2 separate regions of the Homo sapiens genome follow, and region 1 is linked to region 2. Evidence: promoter capture Hi-C in 16 types of primary human blood cells and fetal thymus (Javierre and others, 2016). All regions are on one chromosome and are shown on one strand. The core of a region is centred on a gene start or on the middle of the fragment in contact, and the rest is flanking DNA. Distances in the headings are between cores, read along the strand shown. Region 1 overlaps MYO3B (myosin IIIB). Region 2 holds the start of GAD1 (glutamate decarboxylase 1).

Evidence for each region. The method cuts DNA at HindIII sites, captures the fragments that hold promoters and counts their contacts. A CHiCAGO score of 5 or more calls a contact.
Region 1: a fragment that was not itself captured here is called in contact with the fragment with the promoter of GAD1 in region 2 in 1 of 17 cell types (megakaryocytes); the score reaches 5.5 in megakaryocytes.

What each region holds. Positions count from the first base shown.
Region 1 is chr2:170,271,379-170,275,557 of GRCh38, forward strand. The region is part of intron 7 of MYO3B (myosin IIIB); the gene reads left to right. Among named protein-coding and RNA genes, the nearest start is that of MYO3B-AS1, 77 kb to the right of the region's middle. The HindIII fragment of the contact is 2,248 bases long and covers 759-3,006 here.
Region 2 is chr2:170,815,259-170,819,844 of GRCh38, forward strand. It overlaps GAD1 (glutamate decarboxylase 1), which reads left to right and starts at 1,629. Exons shown (of 17, transcript NM_000817.3): 1 at 1,629-1,790; 2 at 3,271-3,415. The coding sequence starts at 3,334. It overlaps GAD1-AS1 (GAD1 antisense RNA 1), which reads right to left and starts at 3,393. Exons shown (of 4, transcript NR_197761.1): 1 at 3,128-3,393; 2 at 2,460-2,657; 3 at 1,596-1,774; 4 at 1-1,227. RefSeq lists a silencer at 1,444-1,523 and enhancers at 1,611-1,780, 3,020-3,543, 3,544-4,066. The HindIII fragment of the contact is 11,655 bases long and covers 1-4,113 here.

The DNA.
Region 1 (4,179 bases), core at 633-3,132, 540 kb before region 2:
AGATATAAATAAATCACACTGAGAGAATGGTGAACCATGAAATGACTCTGTTAACATGTCATCTGTCTAGAATATATTTTCAACTCTCCAACAGAAGTGTCTCAATTATGAAGGGAGGTGGCCTACCAAAGTTGATACTTTGATATTTGATGCTTTTAACCTCCTCCATCAGCTGCCTTTGCCTAAGTGTGGAATCTGGCCCAGTGCATAGAGTACAACGTGGCCTAATGGCTGAGAGTCATTGTAACTGGTGATTTTAACATGCAATGAACTCTGAAGCTCCTCAAACTGTGCTATCTTGTGAAGGCATGTATCAGTGCTACTTGTCTGGTCTTATTAAGGAATTCTGAAAATTGCTAATTGTTATAATAAGAATTTTAACCACAAACAAGCCAAATTTACTGAATTCTTCCTTTATGCCCAGCACTGACTGATACTATAGTGGGCTTCGGAAATGTTCCCAAAATGACTTTTGTTTTTAAGTTACTCTGAATGTAGTCTCAGAATTTGAGGTGGGGACTAGTAGGTTTTAGTGGCCTATTTGTATTCAGGTTTCAGTATATAATAATGTGAAAATAGCTCTTTGTATCTAGTAAACTTGCAGATGCCAGCTGACTGGTGAGGGACTGTTATATTTCTACATTTCATCTTACTGCTTCTAACCCAGTGATGTCCCTCTTTCTAAATAGTGACAGAAGGGAAACTTTTTTTTTTTTTTAACTTGGCCCATGGAAATGGGCTATTCCAATGGTTCTCAAAGCTTGGTCTCTGAACCGATAGCATCGGCATCACTTGGGAACATGTTAGAAATGCAAATTCACAGGCCCTAGCCTAGACTGACTGAATCAGAAACTGGGAGTGGGGACCAGTGATCTGTGTTTTAACAAGCCCTGTGGGTGCTTCTGAGGCTCACTCAAACTTGAGAATCCTGGGATGGCTCCTTTCCAACCCTTCTGTTACTGCCTTGGTGTAACCCTCATCAGTCTGGACCACTGGAGCAGTCCCCAGCTGGTCTCCCTACTTCCAGAGTTAACCTGTCCAATCCATTCCCCACATCAGTTGGCCTTTGATTTTTGTCTCATCACCAGTGGAATACTCAACACTCTAAAGGGAGCCCAAGTTTTCCTCCTTCAGTTTACTCACCCACAAGGAGTAGACCAAGGCAATGAATGCAGTAGACCACAGTAGTGACAGGGCAGGTAGAGGTGGGAGTGGTAACTACCATGGTTTGAGAGTGTCTCCCAAAAACCATGTGTTGAGAACTTAATCCCCCGTGTCAACAGTGTTGGGAGGTGGGGCATAATGAGAGGTGACTGGACCATGAGGGTGGAGTGACTGTATTAATGCTATTATTGTAAGAGTGAGTTCTTCATAAAAGGACAAGTTTGGCCCTTTTCTGTTTTTCTTTTGCCCTTTCTTTGCCCCTTTGCCATGGGACGATGTAGCAAGATCCTTAAGCCTTCAGTTTTGTACGTCTCAATCTTGTACATCTCATAATACTATTCTGGTATAATGAACAGAAAATGTATTAGCTTGTGGATACCAATGTCTGGATTCTGTTACAGCAGCACAAAACAGACTAAGATAGTAACCATTATGGGAAGGAGTATTGGGTCAATTGCTCTTTCTCCTTTTTCTTTTAGATGGGTTGGGGTGGGGTAGTGTATATGTGTTTCCCTTAGGATCAGCTGTATTTGCCATTTGAGACTTAAGATCAAGAGGGCCAAGATTCAAAAGTGGATCTCCAGGAAGAATCCAAAGAGACTACTCAGCCCGGAGCCAAGGCCAAAAGGATGCTCTGAGCAATCTATAGTCTGGCCCATCTCACCCAGTGACCATGTGGGGGTTTGAGGTCCAAGCCTCAACTGATAATTAAAAGTGATTTAGCCTGGAGCAACCCACCTGCATTTCTGTCTTGGGAACTGGAGGCGAAACTAGGGATCTCAGAATGCTGAGACCCTGGGTCCTTGCTGTATATTATCCCAATAAGTCTAGAATCCTCCTCTTGCCTCACACCCCTGGATGGCCCACAGCTGCCCAAAGGATGAAGTTCAAATCTCTTGTTACAGCCTAGAAGGTCTTTCAAACTCTAGTTCCTGCTTATTTTCTCTTGAGTCTGCCTAAAGAATCCTGCTCTCCAGCCGTATCAAATTAAGTCTCTGAAGAAGACATAGTCTTTCATCGTTCTTTATGTTTAACACATACTGTATCATCTGCCTGGGATGCTCATTTCTTCCTTCCTCTCACGTACTTCATCTTCCATATTCCCCTTGGACCTGCCACTATCTACATGGTGACCATCCTTCAAAACTCAGCTCATATGTCACTTCCTCGGTGAAACCTTCCTCAAACCCGTCAAGCAGGATTGGACTCGTGTAATTATCACATAAAGTTGGTCTAATACATATTTTTTTGTGACAATTGCTTTATTCCTGGAATAAGACATTTTCAGGCTCAAAAGGACCGCAATTCCCTAGCCCCTGGCTATTAATGAGAGGCCTGGAGACCCCACTTTAAATGGCAGTGGGGGGGCACCTGGGGAAGCCATAGATGTGGAGCTGGGCCAATCAGATTTCCTTTCTTGGAAATTTTAACTGAGACATAGAGAGTCATTTAATCGGTGATGTGTGTATGAGCTGAAAAGTTGGAAAGAGTTTGGGCTGGTCTGGCCATATTAGACATATATCAGATGCATAGGCAAAGCAAACTACGAGAGAGAGAGAGAGAGAGATCAAGACTGAGAGAGAGACCAAGATGGCTTTAGACAGAGGGAGGGAGAGAGAATGAGAGAGAGAGAGAGACACTGAGAGAGAGAAAGACAGAGACCAAGCTGACGTTAGACGTAGGTGAGACAATAATATCCAGGGATTAATCCAAATTTCCAGCCTTTTTTCTTTTCTCTTCCTAGCTTTTTTACTTGAGGCCTGTCTGAATGTAATTTTGGGTTCTCAGATTCATTGGAATGCTTTATCCCTTTGCATCCTTAAATAAAACTCCTTTAACTCAAGCTTTTTGAAGCAGGTTTCTTTTCAGTGCAACCGGGAAAGCTTTGATTAGCACAAGGATTCTACTCACTGTGTTCTCAGTTCCACATAGCAAAGTGGCTACTTTTAGTAGGCTCGGTAAATATTGGATGAGTGAACTAACAGTAGGCACTAAAGATGCTGCAGGGCACCCAGAAAATTATTCTGTAGAGTCAAAACCTGAAAGGCATAGGGTTGTGTGAGGAAGAGAGGGAACTGACTACAGAGGCATGAAGCTACTATTTGGAGTGATGGAAATGTTCTATATCTTGATTCTAGTGATAATTCCATGACTCTATGTGCTTATCAAAATGCACAGAACTCTACATTGAAAAAGGTGACTTTTACTGTATGTAAATTTTAACTTAATAAACTTAACCTAATAAAGAAGCAATAAAAAAGAAAAAAACGCAAAGTAAAATAATATTTTCTCTACAACACATTAATTTCCTAATCAAAAATCTTTAACTTTTTTTGCATCATTTTACCCAATTCTTTTTCTTTTTTCCTGGGACCATAGGATCCAGATAATAGAAATGTTGATTATGGGACATGATATTGCTTTTTGACTTGCTTGACATTATTCAAAAATGTTGCCAAAATAGAAAGTACTATTTCTCTACTTTCCAGTTCTGAGTACTGATAAAAGCAAAATATTATGTTCAGAAAGAAATAAGCCCGTATTTCTGAGCTCCAGCTTCTGCTAGGTCCCCATTTAATGTTGTTGCCTAACTACTAACTATTTGATTTGAAAGCTTTAAACAATATTGATTATACTCTCCTGAGCAGGCATCTCTCAGACTTAAACATTGCTTCATAGGATATTTAAACACGCCAATTGAAAACAATAATAACAATGACAATTTATGAAGGTTGCATTCCCAAATGTATTTGAGAAATTCTAGTTTAAGAAAAGTGAACATGTTTCTTTATTTCAAGACTTCCCGATGTCTTAGAATAGTCAGACATCAAATTTCATCCACAGTTTCCAGAGTTGCTATTTCTTTCCCATACCTTTGCTTTGGAACTTGATCTAATGGAATTGTTACTGTTACTATGACATTTTTCATGTGTACTATGTCCTAAAAACACTGTGGTTGCATTCATTTTATTTTATTTTTGAGAGATGAATCTAGGGCCTCTTGAACTTTTTATT
Region 2 (4,586 bases), core at 379-2,878:
CAGTGCCCGGGGCTGCAGTCACCGCGCGCCCCGCCGTTTAGGATGTTTTTTGTGTCCTTAAAAAGTGCCGGGGATTTCATCGTCAGGTGGAGACAAGGCGACAAAACAGTAGTTTCTTTAGTACCAAAGGCAACGCGATTATTTCAAACCCCACAGCGAGATCCCTCTTGCTGATCAGGCCATGTCTGCCCAGGGCGGACCCTTCGATCTCCCTTATGGAACTCTCGGTAATTTATAATATTTTTGTGTGTGTTTCCATTGTGTTGTGGTGAAAGGCGATAAGGCATTCAAAGAAAACGGACGGGCCTCCGCTGAACCAGTGAGGCCCCAGACGTGCGCATAAATAACCCCTGCGTGCTGCACCACCTGGGGAGAGGGGGAGGACCACGGTAAATACCAGTAAAGGAATCACTGCCTACACGGTGTCACCCAGACACGCACAGACATCAACATTTTTGCCCTAAAGAAAAAAACTGGGGGAGAAGAAAGGGGAGAACTTAAACTAGTGACAGGGCGGTGAGGGAAGGCATGAAGAGGCAAGCCGGCGCGTAACCGTCTGGCCAGCAGCTCCAGGTGTGGGCTCCGCTCGGGCGCTGGCGGAGAGACCCGGGAGCGCAGGGCCTCTCCGTCTCTGGGCTCTTGGCGCCCTCTGGTGGGAATTTCTCTTTCAACGCATTTTTACGGCGAGGGGCTTCTCCCAACGCAGCGGTTCTTTTAACTACGCCTAAATATTGCAAAGGGAGAATCCTTAAAGCGCGTGAAATCGAAGGGGGAGCGGGCCAGGGCAAGGGGGGCTGGTCCGCCCCTTCCGGGCACCTCTGTGCTCGGGTGCCCCATGCGCGTGCAGCGGCGCTCGTGCGTGTCATCAACCTTCAAACGTGATTAATCAGGAGGCCTTCTTTTCCCATCACCAAGGGGGCCAAAGCGAGGAGCGAGCGCATAGCAAAAGGGACGCGGGGTCCTTTTCTCTGCCGGTGGCACTGGGTAGCTGTGGCCAGGTGTGGTACTTTGATGGGGCCCAGGGCTGGATGAGGAAACTGTAATTCCTCCATGGTCTAAGAGGTCTCCCCTCATTTCTGCCTCCTTTGCGGTTACAACAATCCCAGCTCCGTAGAGAGCCAACGAGGACACGACCCAAAGCGCGCTTTCGCTCAAGGAAGCGTCGCAGGGTCACAGATCTGGGGGAACCCCGGGGAAAAGCACTGAGGCAAAACCGCCGCTCGTCTCCTACAATATATGGGAGGGGGAGGGGAAATGGGAGAGGGGAAAGGAGGGGAGGGAAGAAGAAACGCTCAGAAAGGCAGAATTCTTCGTAGGAATTATCTTTTCCCTCCTCTCACCCGACAGCCTGCCTATTTCCAAAGGAAAAAAAAAAAGCGTGTTGAGTACGTTCTGGATTACTCATAAGACCTTTTTTTTTTCCTTCCGGGCGCAAAACCGTGAGCTGGATTTATAATCGCCCTATAAAGCTCCAGAGGCGGTCAGGCACCTGCAGAGGAGCCCCGCCGCTCCGCCGACTAGCTGCCCCCGCGAGCAACGGCCTCGTGATTTCCCCGCCGATCCGGTCCCCGCCTCCCCACTCTGCCCCCGCCTACCCCGGAGCCGTGCAGCCGCCTCTCCGAATCTCTCTCTTCTCCTGGCGCTCGCGTGCGAGAGGGAACTAGCGAGAACGAGGAAGCAGCTGGAGGTGACGCCGGGCAGATTACGCCTGTCAGGGCCGAGCCGAGCGGATCGCTGGGCGCTGTGCAGAGGAAAGGCGGGAGTGCCCGGCTCGCTGTCGCAGAGCCGAGGTGGGTAAGCTAGCGACCACCTGGACTTCCCAGCGCCCAACCGTGGCTTTTCAGCCAGGTCCTCTCCTCCCGCGGCTTCTCAACCAACCCCATCCCAGCGCCGGCCACCCAACCTCCCGAAATGAGTGCTTCCTGCCCGCCCTAGTCCCTGCTCTCCACGGGTGCGCTGCGCAGGGACCCCCCCCCCCCCGCCTCCCTCGTCACTCTTCTTATCCCTGCCCTCCGGATTCACGCCCCGGGGAAGCACGGAGGCTGAGGCTCTAGTTGAAGTGGGGCAAGAGCGATTTTCCCTTGAGCTTCCATGCTGCGAGCGCCTGTCCCTCCAAAGGGCGCCTGGGCAGCAGCAGCCGAAGGCGCTACTAGGAACGGTAACCTGTTACTTTTCCAGGGGCCGTAGTCGACCCGCTGCCCGAGTTGCTGTGCGACTGCGCGCGCGGGGCTAGGAGTGAGGTCGGAGGGAGGGTGTGGAGGCGATGGCCGGTGGGCCCTTCTCTGTGGGGTCCTCGATCTACCCAGATTAGCCCGCAATCTCTCTGTCCCGGGGCCTTCGGGCGCCATCGCGCCAGCGCCGAGAGTCGAGCAGGGGCGCCGCGCAAGATCTTTGTCCGCCGCCTCCTGCGCGCTGCGCGCAAGTTCGTTTCCCCGGTGACGTTCCCCATGCTTACTTACCCCACCCTCTCTGGATCTGTACCGCGAGAAATCTGGGGTCCTCAGGGGGCTAGGTAGAGGAGAAACGCTGAAACCGGACCGAAACCTCGCCCTAGGCTTAGCGATGGCTAAAAACCGGCTGGGATAAGAGGGAGGCAAGCAACATTCCGACTCGCTGCTTTCTGGCTGTCTGGAGTGCAAGGTGACTGTGGTTCTTCTCTGGCCAAGTCCGAGGGAGAACGTAAAGATATGGGCCTTTTTCCCCCTCTCACCTTGTCTCACCAAAGTCCCTAGTCCCCGGAGCAGTTAGCCTCTTTCTTTCCAGGGAATTAGCCAGACACAACAACGGGAACCAGACACCGAACCAGACATGCCCGCCCCGTGCGCCCTCCCCCCGCTGGCCCACACGCCGGCTGCTGAGTGCCCAATGGGGCTTGTAGCGGCTCGGCTGGAAAATCGCTCACTGAGCGCTCCCCTGTGCTCCTAGCCTAGTCCCCCACACCCTTGCGTCTTGTACTGGCCTTGGACCCCCACCCCGACCCCGACCCCGCCTCGTCTCGGCGCTTCACTCCAGGTCGCGCCGATGCACCGCCAGACTCGAGAGCGGCCCAGGGCTACGCTCCCTGCGCCCCAGTACCGGAGCTAGCGCGCACGTCTCCTCCGCTGCCCCCACCCCTGCGCACCCCTACCAGGCAGGCTCGCTGCCTTTCCTCCCTCTTGTCTCTCCAGAGCCGGATCTTCAAGGGGAGCCTCCGTGCCCCCGGCTGCTCAGTCCCTCCGGTGTGCAGGACCCCGGAAGTCCTCCCCGCACAGCTCTCGCTTCTCTTTGCAGCCTGTTTCTGCGCCGGACCAGTCGAGGACTCTGGACAGTAGAGGCCCCGGGACGACCGAGCTGATGGCGTCTTCGACCCCATCTTCGTCCGCAACCTCCTCGAACGCGGGAGCGGACCCCAATACCACTAACCTGCGCCCCACAAGTAGGTCCCGCCCCAATTTTCTATCAAATGAACTGCAGGGAAGATGGGGGCGCTGGGACGTCGGGAGGCTGAGCTGGCGGAAAGGGAAGGGGGAGCGCGGAGATAATGGAGGCTGGGAAATAAATGGGGCTCTGACCCCGTCCCTGCCAGAGGTCATTCGGCTGTCAGGGACGCTAGGTGACTCCCAGGGCACCGGAAAGCGAGGACCACGCAAGGTCCGAGCAGCGGCGATCGTTGAGGGCTTCGCGGAGGAGGAGGGGCGCGCAGCCAGGGTGTTGTTTTTATTCTGTTGTGTGTGGTTTCTTTGCTCCGTGGGACGACAGGGGTCAGCGCAGGGGGCGGAATGAAGAGCTAGGAGCCCCAGCAGGAATAAGAGTTTTCAGTCCCCGGCTTTCGTTGAGCCAAGATCTGACCTCCTCCTTTCCCCCTGGGCTGTGTTCAAAGTCTATAATCAGCGGAAATTTCGACGTTAATTGCAGCTTTTAGAAAACTCAAGGTCCCTAATTGCTCCAAATTTGCATCAAGCTATTGACGAGTTAGGGAGAAGTCAGGGGCGGGAAAGGTGCATAAAACTGAGACTGAGCCTTGACATTTCATACAATTAATTACATCTCAGAGAAATAAATAAATAAATAAATAAATAGGGGAGCGGGCGGCATCCTGAGTGGCAAGAGATGGGGAACTGGGAGGGGGCAAGAAGCTTTATCATAGAGAGGAGAGAGCACCTCTCTCCTTATCCCAGGCAAGAGATCTGTCAGGAGGTGACATGTCCCGAAAAGAGAGAAAGAAAAGAGACACCAGATAAAAGAGGGGGGAGGATTTATGCTTCCCTGTCTTAAGTGCGACAGGCTCCTCAACCCATTTCCAGAATCTATCTTTAATTTTATTTCCTACCTCTGTAAAGGCTTGAGATGAGAAAATTGTTTTTCTTTTTCCTTGTTGGAGTGAAGAAGTGTCTCCTGACCCCACCCCCCTAAAAAAACTTATCAGCTTCAGACTGTAAGTGTTCCCACTCCCCCATTTATTTATTTCTGAGATGTAATTAATTGTATGAATTTCCAGAATTTGTATACAGAAAGGGCTTAAGAAGGATAGTGTGGTTACAGGGAGTGCTTATTGATGCGCTTTTATGGCACTTTATATTTGAGAAAATAAGTATCCTCATCAATGA